3 separate regions of the Homo sapiens genome follow, and regions 1 and 2 are each linked to region 3. Evidence: promoter capture Hi-C in 16 types of primary human blood cells and fetal thymus (Javierre and others, 2016). All regions are on one chromosome and are shown on one strand. The core of a region is centred on a gene start or on the middle of the fragment in contact, and the rest is flanking DNA. Distances in the headings are between cores, read along the strand shown.

Region 1 (3,056 bases), core at 30-2,529, about 30 Mb before region 3:
GCCTAAAATATATACTAAATATTTTTAAAGCTAAACGTTGCTGAGCTCTCAGTTGTATGGAAAAAGATAAGGTCCCCAAACCCTAAATTTTGTTACCCAGATATTAACATATTCCTGCCCTAGTCAGGAATGGAGTATTAAGAGGGAATGATGTGTTTCAGTCTATGTGTGTTGTTTTAGCAAGTCTACATTATCTCATTACACTTGTGATAGTCTAGGGAGAAATGCTTAGTAAATAACTTGAGTAGTAAAAGACTCTTGTCTGGTGGTGAACTAGAGTTGAGAATTAAAATTCTTTCTGACTTGCTGCTATAGGCAATGTGGGAGATTGACCTTGGGCCTTTTTTCCTATTCTAGGAGCGAGCTGGACGCCACTGTGGGGCTCTGAGAGTCCTGAATTCTTACTGGGTTGGTGAAGATTCCACATACAAATTTTTTGAGGTTATCCTCATTGATCCATTCCATAAAGCTATCAGAAGAAATCCTGACACCCAGTGGATCACCAAACCAGTCCACAAGCACAGGGAGATGCGTGGGCTGACATCTGCAGGCCGAAAGAGCCGTGGCCTTGGAAAGGGCCACAAGTTCCACCACACTATTGGTGGCTCTCGCCGGGCAGCTTGGAGAAGGCGCAATACTCTCCAGCTCCACCGTTACCGCTAATATAAGTAAAGTTTGTAAAATTCATACTTAATAAACAATTTAGGACAGTCATGTCTGCTTACAGGTGTTATTTGTCTGTTAAAACTAGTCTGCAGATGTTTCTTGAATGCTTTGTCAAATTAAGAAAGTTAAAGTGCAATAATGTTTGAAGACAATAAGTGGTGGTGTATCTTGTTTCTAATAAGATAAACTTTTTTGTCTTTGCTTTATCTTATTAGGGAGTTGTATGTCAGTGTATAAAACATACTGTGTGGTATAACAGGCTTAATAAATTCTTTAAAAGGAGAGAACTGAAACTAGCCCTGTAGATTTGTCTGGTGCATGTGATGAAACCTGCAGCTTTATCGGAGTGATGGCAATGCTCTGCTGGTTTATTTTCAAGTGGCTGCGTTTTTTTTAGTTTGGCAGGTGTAGACTTTTTAAGTTGGGCTTTAGAAAATCTGGGTTAGCCTGAAGAAAATTGCCTCAGCCTCCACAGTACCATTTTAAATTCACATAAAAGGTGAAAGCTCCTGGTTCAGTGCCATGGCTTCATGGCATTCAGTGATTAGTGGTAATGGTAAACACTGGTGTGTTTTGAAGTTGAATGTGCGATAAAATTATTAGCCTTAAGATTGGTAAGCTAGCAATGAATGCTAGGGTGGGAAGCTGGTGAGCCAGTGGCCATTAGATAAATACCTTTCAAGTGTGAGCTTAGACGTCAACCCTAAAATACTTAACCGTAATGCTAATTGTGATCATTATGAATCCCTTCAGTCACATTAGGGGGAAAGTAGTTGGCTATAAGTACGTCATTCTTAGTCCAGTCAGTCTTAAAAACATCTTGGGTTACCCACTCTGTCCACTCCCATAGGCTACAGAAAAAGTCACAAGCGCATGGTTTCCAACCATATGTGTTTTCTGCAGTTATTTCTCTTGTTCTGGCCAAACAACCCTAAAAATCCTTACCATTCCACAAAGTTGGACCATCACTTGTGCACCCACTTTGACTATGAGTATACCACCACATTGCATTTCTGTTTGCACCATGTCTTCCAGGAGACTAGACTACTGTTGTCCAGGGTCAATTTGAGTGTAAAGAAAATGTAGACAAGGAATTGCCCAATTTTAAATTCTGACTTTGCTGACTTAATTTAAATGCTCGTTCTGAACCAATTTTCTCCTATCTTCTCTAGGGGTTTCAAAAGACTCAGTTAATTGATTTCCAGGAAGTACTCATAGCAAGTTCATAAAAGTTCTTGAGACCTAAATTTCTTCACAAAAAAAGAAAAGATCTTAAGTCATACATTTTAATTGTGTAGAGGTTGTTCAACTGAAGGAATAAATGTCTATTAAACTAAAACAAATGGACCTTCTGTTATTTTTTGTCATCTTACAGTGCTAATGTACTTTAAAGCAAACCAAATGCCCTAACCAGCAAAAAGGCATCAAAATGTGATTATAGAAATAATATAATTTGAGATAGCATAAAATGTACTTATTCTCTCAGTTCTTTGATCATTGCATGAATTAGGTTTTTATCTAAAACTGTTCAGCTGGGTGTGGTGGCTCAGGCCTGTAATCCTGGCACTTTGGGAGACAAGCTGGAGGATTTGTTGAGGCCAGCCTGGGCAGCATAGTGAGACCTAAAAACAAAAAAAATCCTTAAACATGACTAATTTGGGAAGGAGAGAAAGGGTTCGGGCCAAAGGTCAGCATTGTCTCTACAAGAAAACCTTGTTCCTGTCCTTGCTACCCAACAGTTTTATCTCCACACAGTAGTCCAAGGGATCCTATTAAATTGATCATGGCACTCCCGTGCAAAAAAATCAAAAGTCCTCATGATAGCTTTCATGATCTTCCCACTTTATGTGTGACCTCATGTCCTACTGCAGTCCACACCCCAGGCTCCTTGCTGTTTGTTCTTCAAATACACCAAACACTTCCTAATGCCTTTATGATGGGAAAGCTTTACTCCAATATTAAGGGTCACTTTATTAGCTATACCCTGACCGCCCCACAAGCTGTTCCCATTTGCTTTACTATTTCTATATTGGCATGTAATTCACACAGCAACATTGATTATTGAGTTTTTTTTTTTTTTTTTTTTTTTCCAGATGGAGTCTCACTCTCACTCAGGTGGGAGTGCAGTGGGGCAATCACGGCTCACTGCAACCTCTGTCTCCCGGGTTTGAGCAATTCTTCTGCCTCGGCCTCCCAAATAGCCAGGACTACAGGCGCACACTGCCATGCCCAGCTAAGTTTTGTATTTTTAGTAGAGACTGGGTTTCACTATGTTGGCCAGGCTGGTCTCGAACTCCTGACCTCAAGTGATCCACCTGCCTTGGCCTCCCAAAGTGCTGGGATTACAGGCGTGAGCCACCACCCCCAGCCCAATTTTTATTTTTTGTACA
Region 2 (2,892 bases), core at 349-2,848, about 39 Mb before region 3:
AGATGAAAACCTTAGAGATGCTGCGTGAACAGGTACAGATAAATCCCAAGTGACTGTGAGGAAAGATGTGAGCGCTTGGTTTCTTGCTGGACCATACTGCAGAAAAATCTAGTAAATTAGTTAGAAATTAAAATTGATATTCAGAATTGCATAAAGGTAGTTGCCATACTATTTTTGTGTTTCAAATTTTATAACTGCTCACAAGTAACCTGTGTAACTTTGATGTTTTAAATCTGGTCCCAAATGTGGTACTTTTGGGGTGGCTTGGATGGGAAAATAGAAAGTTACTTAAAGGATTAAGGTGTAGGACGGAATGGGTTGGTTTTCTTGAGTGTTAAGGCTTGCAAGATGCTCTGTGAACTCTTATGAAACTTTGTAAGACATCAGAGGGTTCATAGGAGAGTACTTCATAGGGCTTCATTGTGAGGATCTCAAGGACAGCTTCTTAGAGGTGGCCTGAAGATCAATTAACTAGTCTATTTTTAGAAGAAAATTTCATCTTTTTGGACAGGAATATTGCAAATTTGGCTTCAAGCAAATAATTTTCTGATTTTCTGTTCAGACAACAGATCAGAGAACAAAACGAGAAAACATAAAGGAAAAGCGAAAGGCTATCTTAGAGGCAAGACTTGCCAAACTTCGACAAAAAAAGATGAAAAAATCAAAAGAAGGTGGAACAGAAGAAGAAAATAGAGGTATATCATGGCTATGTTGCTGAACTTCAAAAGGGAAAATTTTATTTCCATTGATGTCTTGCTAATAGGGCTGGCAATGTGAAAATTAGCCATTTAGTTTTATATTTAAGCAAACAGTATACCTTTGAGGTACTGGCAGGAGCAATTTTTATAACCAAAGTGATGCAGAATGACATTCAATATTTTTAGGCTATAGATGAGGATATGAAGCAACAATACATTGTGTTGCATCTTAGAATGGCATAGTCTTGTAATTGAGACTTAGTAAAGAGATATTTTAAGATAAAGTTTAGCTTTGCATATATATGTTTTAGACTTAAATTTTTTGCTATTGGTTATTTTATATATATATTTAAAGAAATTTATATTCATAAAGTTACATAGTAAAAGAATTTAGAAATATGAATATCGACAGCTTGCCAAAGCTTACCAAAGAACTGTGCTCCAGAAGTTGGTGATGTGGAACTTGGAGCACGGTTCCCCTTGGAAACACTGTTAAATGCTATGTCAGACTAGCTTATTGCATGAGTTGTGGTAGTACAGGCTAAATTGCCATCAATCTAGAGACTCCTACATAGAATGGCTCAAACAAAATAGAGATCTGTTTCTCTACTTAACAACTTGGAGGTAGGTGGGTGAGTGGGTATCCAGGGCATGTGAGTAGCTCTGCCCTAGATGGTCATCTAGTCCCAGGCTTCCTCCAGGCTTGCTGTTTCTGCCATTTCCTAGAGTATTTTTCTCTTCTGCATAGTCAAAGCTTGCTCCCCTGCTCACCTGTTCATGATCCAGCCTAGGGGTAGGCAGGGAGACTGGGAAGGGGAGCCACCTTCCTTTTTAGAGATGTGAGTGGGAAGTTACATACAGCCTATGCATTTACATCCTGCTGGCCAGAGCTCAGTCCTGTGGGCCACACCTCACTGTAGGAGAAGCTGGGAAATGGCCTCTCCAGCAAGGTGGCCACATGCTCAGCTGCAACCGGGGGGCATTCTGTTACCCAAAGGAAAAGGAGGAGTGTGGGTATGAAGGGACGTATAGCTCTCCAGCTCTCACAAAGCTTATGTGAAGCCATGGGCCATTTCCTAATGTCTGAACAAAACAGACCAGAAACATTTAGGAATTTGAAAACCATCTGTTTAGTTTCAGATAAATGCTCGCTCTATAACATGTTAAGCTGTGCAGATTGTTTCTCAAATTTTGCTCCATCTCCTGAACATCTGTCATGTCCAGAAAATGTGAAGCGCCACCACAGTGTTTTTTAAAAATCCATTTTTCTTTTACATTTTAAAAATGTGACCAAAATTGAACAGCCTACACCAGACCCCAGCTGTTCATCCCCTTGGCTCTGCTTGCTTCGCCTGAGATTGTGATGTTAGTTGAGTGATTTGGGGATTTCTGGTCCTGCAATTGCCAGTTTGGAGAAGCAGAGTGGCATAGTGAGGGGCACAGAGACTAAAATCCATCCAGCCCAGCCCAGGACTCCAGCCCGTATCACTTTCTACCTGTGTACCATTTCTGAGCTTAATTTTCCCCCTCTATAAAATGGGGATAATATGGAAGTATTGAATTTATTAGGATTGTTACAAGAATTAAATGACCTGTTGTATACAAAAGACTTAATCCACTGCCTGGGACATGTTAGGTACTTCATAAATACTGATGGTTACTTTTACTTTCAGGATTAGCATGTTCTGTATTTTTAAAAATAGCTTTAGGCTTTTTTATAACAGTGTCTTATTCTTTTACAAAAAATAGATGGAGATGTTATTGGGCCTTTGCCACCGGAGCCAGAGGCTGTGCCAACCCCACGTCCTGCTGCCCAGAGTAGCAAAGTAGAAGTCATTGTCCAGGAGAGGAAGGACACCAAGCCTGGAGTGCCACACATCCGGGAGTGGGACCGCGGAAAAGGTAAGGGAGGTGGGCTCTGAGGTGTAAGAACTCTCCAGTGAATGGAAAATGGTTTTTTTTCTAGAAGCACTTGGGGTAAGTTTTAACTTCGTGCTGCCTTGTGTGGTTTTACAGCTTTGGAATGCCATTTCTCAGGACCTGCCTTTAAAGTATTATGAAAGTTTGGTGTTCTCATATGCTCTGTTTTTAGCAGCCTCTTTTATGTTCAGTTGAAAATGGTCTACATGCCAGTGTACTAACCTGGATTCACACATGGTTCCATTGGGGAATTTCCCTGGACATTTTTTCTGTA
Region 3 (3,041 bases), core at 191-2,690:
AATCTACTGGCTGGGCCTCCAACACTTCACATCCTCTGTTGGCACAAGTGTCTTCCACACTGTTCTTCTTCCCTGAGATTCCCTCCTCCCTCTGGTTAGCTCCTAATCACCTTCAGGACTCTAAACAGATGTCACCTCACCTCCTTTGAAGAAACCCTCCCTGACTGTCGGGGATGGAGGAGGTACTTGCTTGAGTGCCCAATACTGCCCTCTGCACAAGCCCATTCCATGCCATGCTCTGATACCTGTTGTCCTATCTCCAAGTGTGACCTCTCTCCTCCTAATCACCCCCCACAGAGTGGGAGAATCCTAGAGGGAAGGATCTGGCAAGGCCCTTACAGACCATCCAGTCAGCCTTCTCAACTAGACAGATGGAGAAACCAGGCCTGTGCAACAGTAATGGCCACTCTGGGCTTACGGTGTGCCAGGCACTGTCATACTAGTGATAACTAACTAGTAGCTGCCCTACTAGTTAGGTATTATCCTTAACCCATCTACCGGTAAGGAAGCTGGATCAGAGATGTCCTACATGAATTTCTGAGCAGTTTATGCCTCATTTCTTCTGTGAATTGTACACTGCCTGTGCCCGTTTTCCTACGTGAATGCTGTTTTAGTTACTGATCAGTAAGGTTTTGTGTATGTGTATACATCTAAGGTCCTCTGCCAGGCACGCTACTGCAAATAATTTTTTCTGGTTAGTTTAGTTTGGTCTAATAGTGTTGTTTTTGATACACAAGCTCTTAATATATATTTAGACAAATGTCCACCATTTCCTTGCTTTTAAGCTTGAAATGACTTCCATTATCTGAGATTTCCTTAACAAAGGAAAAAGCCTGGACCCCAAACTATCCCTTAACAAGCACAGGCTGACGCTCCCAGTGAGCCAGCCTGGTCCTAAACTCTATCTGCCACCATTTAACCCTCACGGCAACTTGCGAGGCGGCTGGTTATCACCGTGGTCGTTTTATGGTCGGGGAAGCTGAGGCCAGAGCCCGGGCAGGAGCGCACACAACCAGACGGTGGGGCGTGCGGGAGATCGGAGCGGTGTCCCTGCGGGGGCTCCGCCTGGCTCCTGGCGCTCCGCACCTCCCAGCCCTCGGCGTCCCGGCGCGCCACCACCCGGAAAAGAACGACCGCTTCCGCACTCCCCCCACCAGGGGCTGGGGCCTGCAAGGGGGACTCGAAGCCTCCCGCCGCCTCCCGCCCCTTGCCTGGCAGCGGAGGACCCAAGCAAGGGCAAAGAGTTCCAACCCAGCCAGAGCCGCACCTCTTGCAGCGACTCCGGCACCAGCGCGGGCACGATGGGCCGCTTCACGCCGCGCTGCTCCTTCTCCTTCTCGCCGCCCTTCTCCTTTCCGTTCTCCGTATCACCCTTCTCAGCCTGGGTCATTATGGCCGGAGACACCCACCAACCTCTCGCCTCAGCGCTGCAGCCACGACTGCCGGGATGGAAGGGCCACCGCGCAGGCGCACGGCCGGCTGCCCACAGTCAAGATGGCCGCCGCGGAGTCGCCCCAGAGGGCTCCGAAAAGGCGGGGGTGGGGCTGCCCGGCGCAGGGGCTGGGGGCGGGGTGTGCATGCGGATTGATTGGGTGGGTGTTGCTGTGATTAGTCCTGACTGTGTAGATGCCAGCAACATAGTACACATAGCTTTTCGAGCGCCTAGTGGGGGTCGGCTGATAACCCGCATCTTATTTCGTCCTCACAGGCATCTCTTCTCCTGGCTTCCCAGATACCATATGTACTCTTAGTTTTTCTCATATGTCTTCATGTTCAGTCCAGCCTCTGATGTTGGGGTTAGGTCTTTTCCAGGCACACTCCTTGGGTGACTATCCAGTTTCCTGGCTTTAGCAATGAATACGATTCCCAAATATATATATCCAGGATGAACCGCTCAGAGAGATCCGTACTGATAACCAGTGCCTACTTGGTCTCTCCATCTGGATTGTCTACAAGGCACTGCAAACTTAAATATGTCCAAAATTTAACTCTTGATTCCCTCCCCTCTCACTTTCACCATCTCAGTAAATGTCATTTTGATTCTTCACTTGTTGACAGCTTCTACATCCAATCCATCAGTAAATCCTGCAGTCTCTAAAATAGATCTTGAATTCATCCACTTCTCCATTCCCATGCCACTACCTAGCCCAAGCCACTATCATCTCACCTGGATGACTACAACAGCCTCTTAACTCGAACTCCTTGTCCTGTCCCCCTATGATCTGTTCTTATATAGTTGCCCACGTTGTTTTAAAATATTACGTAGTTAATACTACTATGTACCCAGCACTCCACTAAGACTTACCTCAAAAATTAGATGTCACTCATGCTTTAAACTCTAATGGTTTCCCTTTGCTCAAAGAACAGAATCTAAACTAACCACCACCTAAAGACCATATCTAGTTATTGCTACATTTCTAAGTTCACCTCACAACACTCTCCCCATTCCTTGGCATTTCCAGCTACACCTGTTTTATCTTTCTCAGACATGCCAAGCCCTTCCCGTCATCGGGCTGTTGCACTTGCTGTTCATTTTGCCTTGGATGCTCTTCCCTCAGCTGTCTCATTCTCACGTCTGAACTCAAATGTCACCTCAGGCCTTCCGCAGTTATTCTCTCATCATCCTATTCCCTTTGAAGCATGAAGCATTAGTCTGTAATTATCATGCCTGCTCACTGTCTCCCACACTAGAATGTAAGCTCCGTGAGACTTTGCCAGTTATCTTCAGCACATGGTAGGTGCCCAATAAGCATGTGATGACTAAATACTAAATAAAGAACTCTTGGAGGTAAAAATTTAATCCCCGTTTTACAGGTGAGTGAAGTGGGATAAAATGGCATAATTCACTCAAGATCATAAGCTATTGAGTAGCAAAGACAAGAGTTAAGCATAAAGTACTCAAGAACCTGTGTTTTACATTCTATCTGAAGTGCAAAGAAGAATACCTGAATGTCAAATGCAGCCAGAACTCTGGGATAAGACCCGAGGAACAAGTCCTGCAGCAGCAGTGCTAGGAGGCAGAAGAGGACCATGGTTCACAT

The links. Contacts are between HindIII fragments. The CHiCAGO score rates a contact against its expected background, and 5 or more counts as called.
Region 1: a fragment that was not itself captured here is called in contact with the fragment with the promoter of ACTR8 in region 3 in 1 of 17 cell types (activated CD4 T cells); the score reaches 9.6 in activated CD4 T cells.
Region 2: a contact is called between a fragment that was not itself captured here and the fragment with the promoter of ACTR8 in region 3, in 1 of 17 cell types (total B cells). The highest score is 8.0, in total B cells.

Annotation. Positions count from the first base shown.
Region 1 is chr3:23,918,839-23,921,894 of GRCh38, forward strand. RPL15 (ribosomal protein L15) reads left to right here. Exons shown (of 4, transcript NM_002948.5): 4 at 358-2,151. The coding sequence ends at 663. It also overlaps a transcript of NKIRAS1 not described here. Among named protein-coding and RNA genes, the nearest start is that of RPL15, 3.2 kb to the left of the region's middle. The HindIII fragment of the contact is 2,659 bases long and covers 1-2,609 here.
Region 2 is chr3:14,667,487-14,670,378 of GRCh38, forward strand. It overlaps CCDC174 (coiled-coil domain containing 174), which reads left to right. Exons shown (of 11, transcript NM_016474.5): 8 at 1-32; 9 at 563-695; 10 at 2,448-2,600. Among named protein-coding and RNA genes, the nearest start is that of C3orf20, 6.2 kb to the right of the region's middle. The HindIII fragment of the contact is 297 bases long and covers 1,451-1,747 here.
Region 3 is chr3:53,880,712-53,883,752 of GRCh38, forward strand. ACTR8 (actin related protein 8) reads right to left here and starts at 1,441. Exons shown (of 13, transcript NM_022899.5): 1 at 1,268-1,441. The coding sequence starts at 1,390. RefSeq lists silencers at 1,068-1,177, 1,568-1,657 and an enhancer at 1,328-1,407. The HindIII fragment of the contact is 9,111 bases long and covers 784-3,041 here.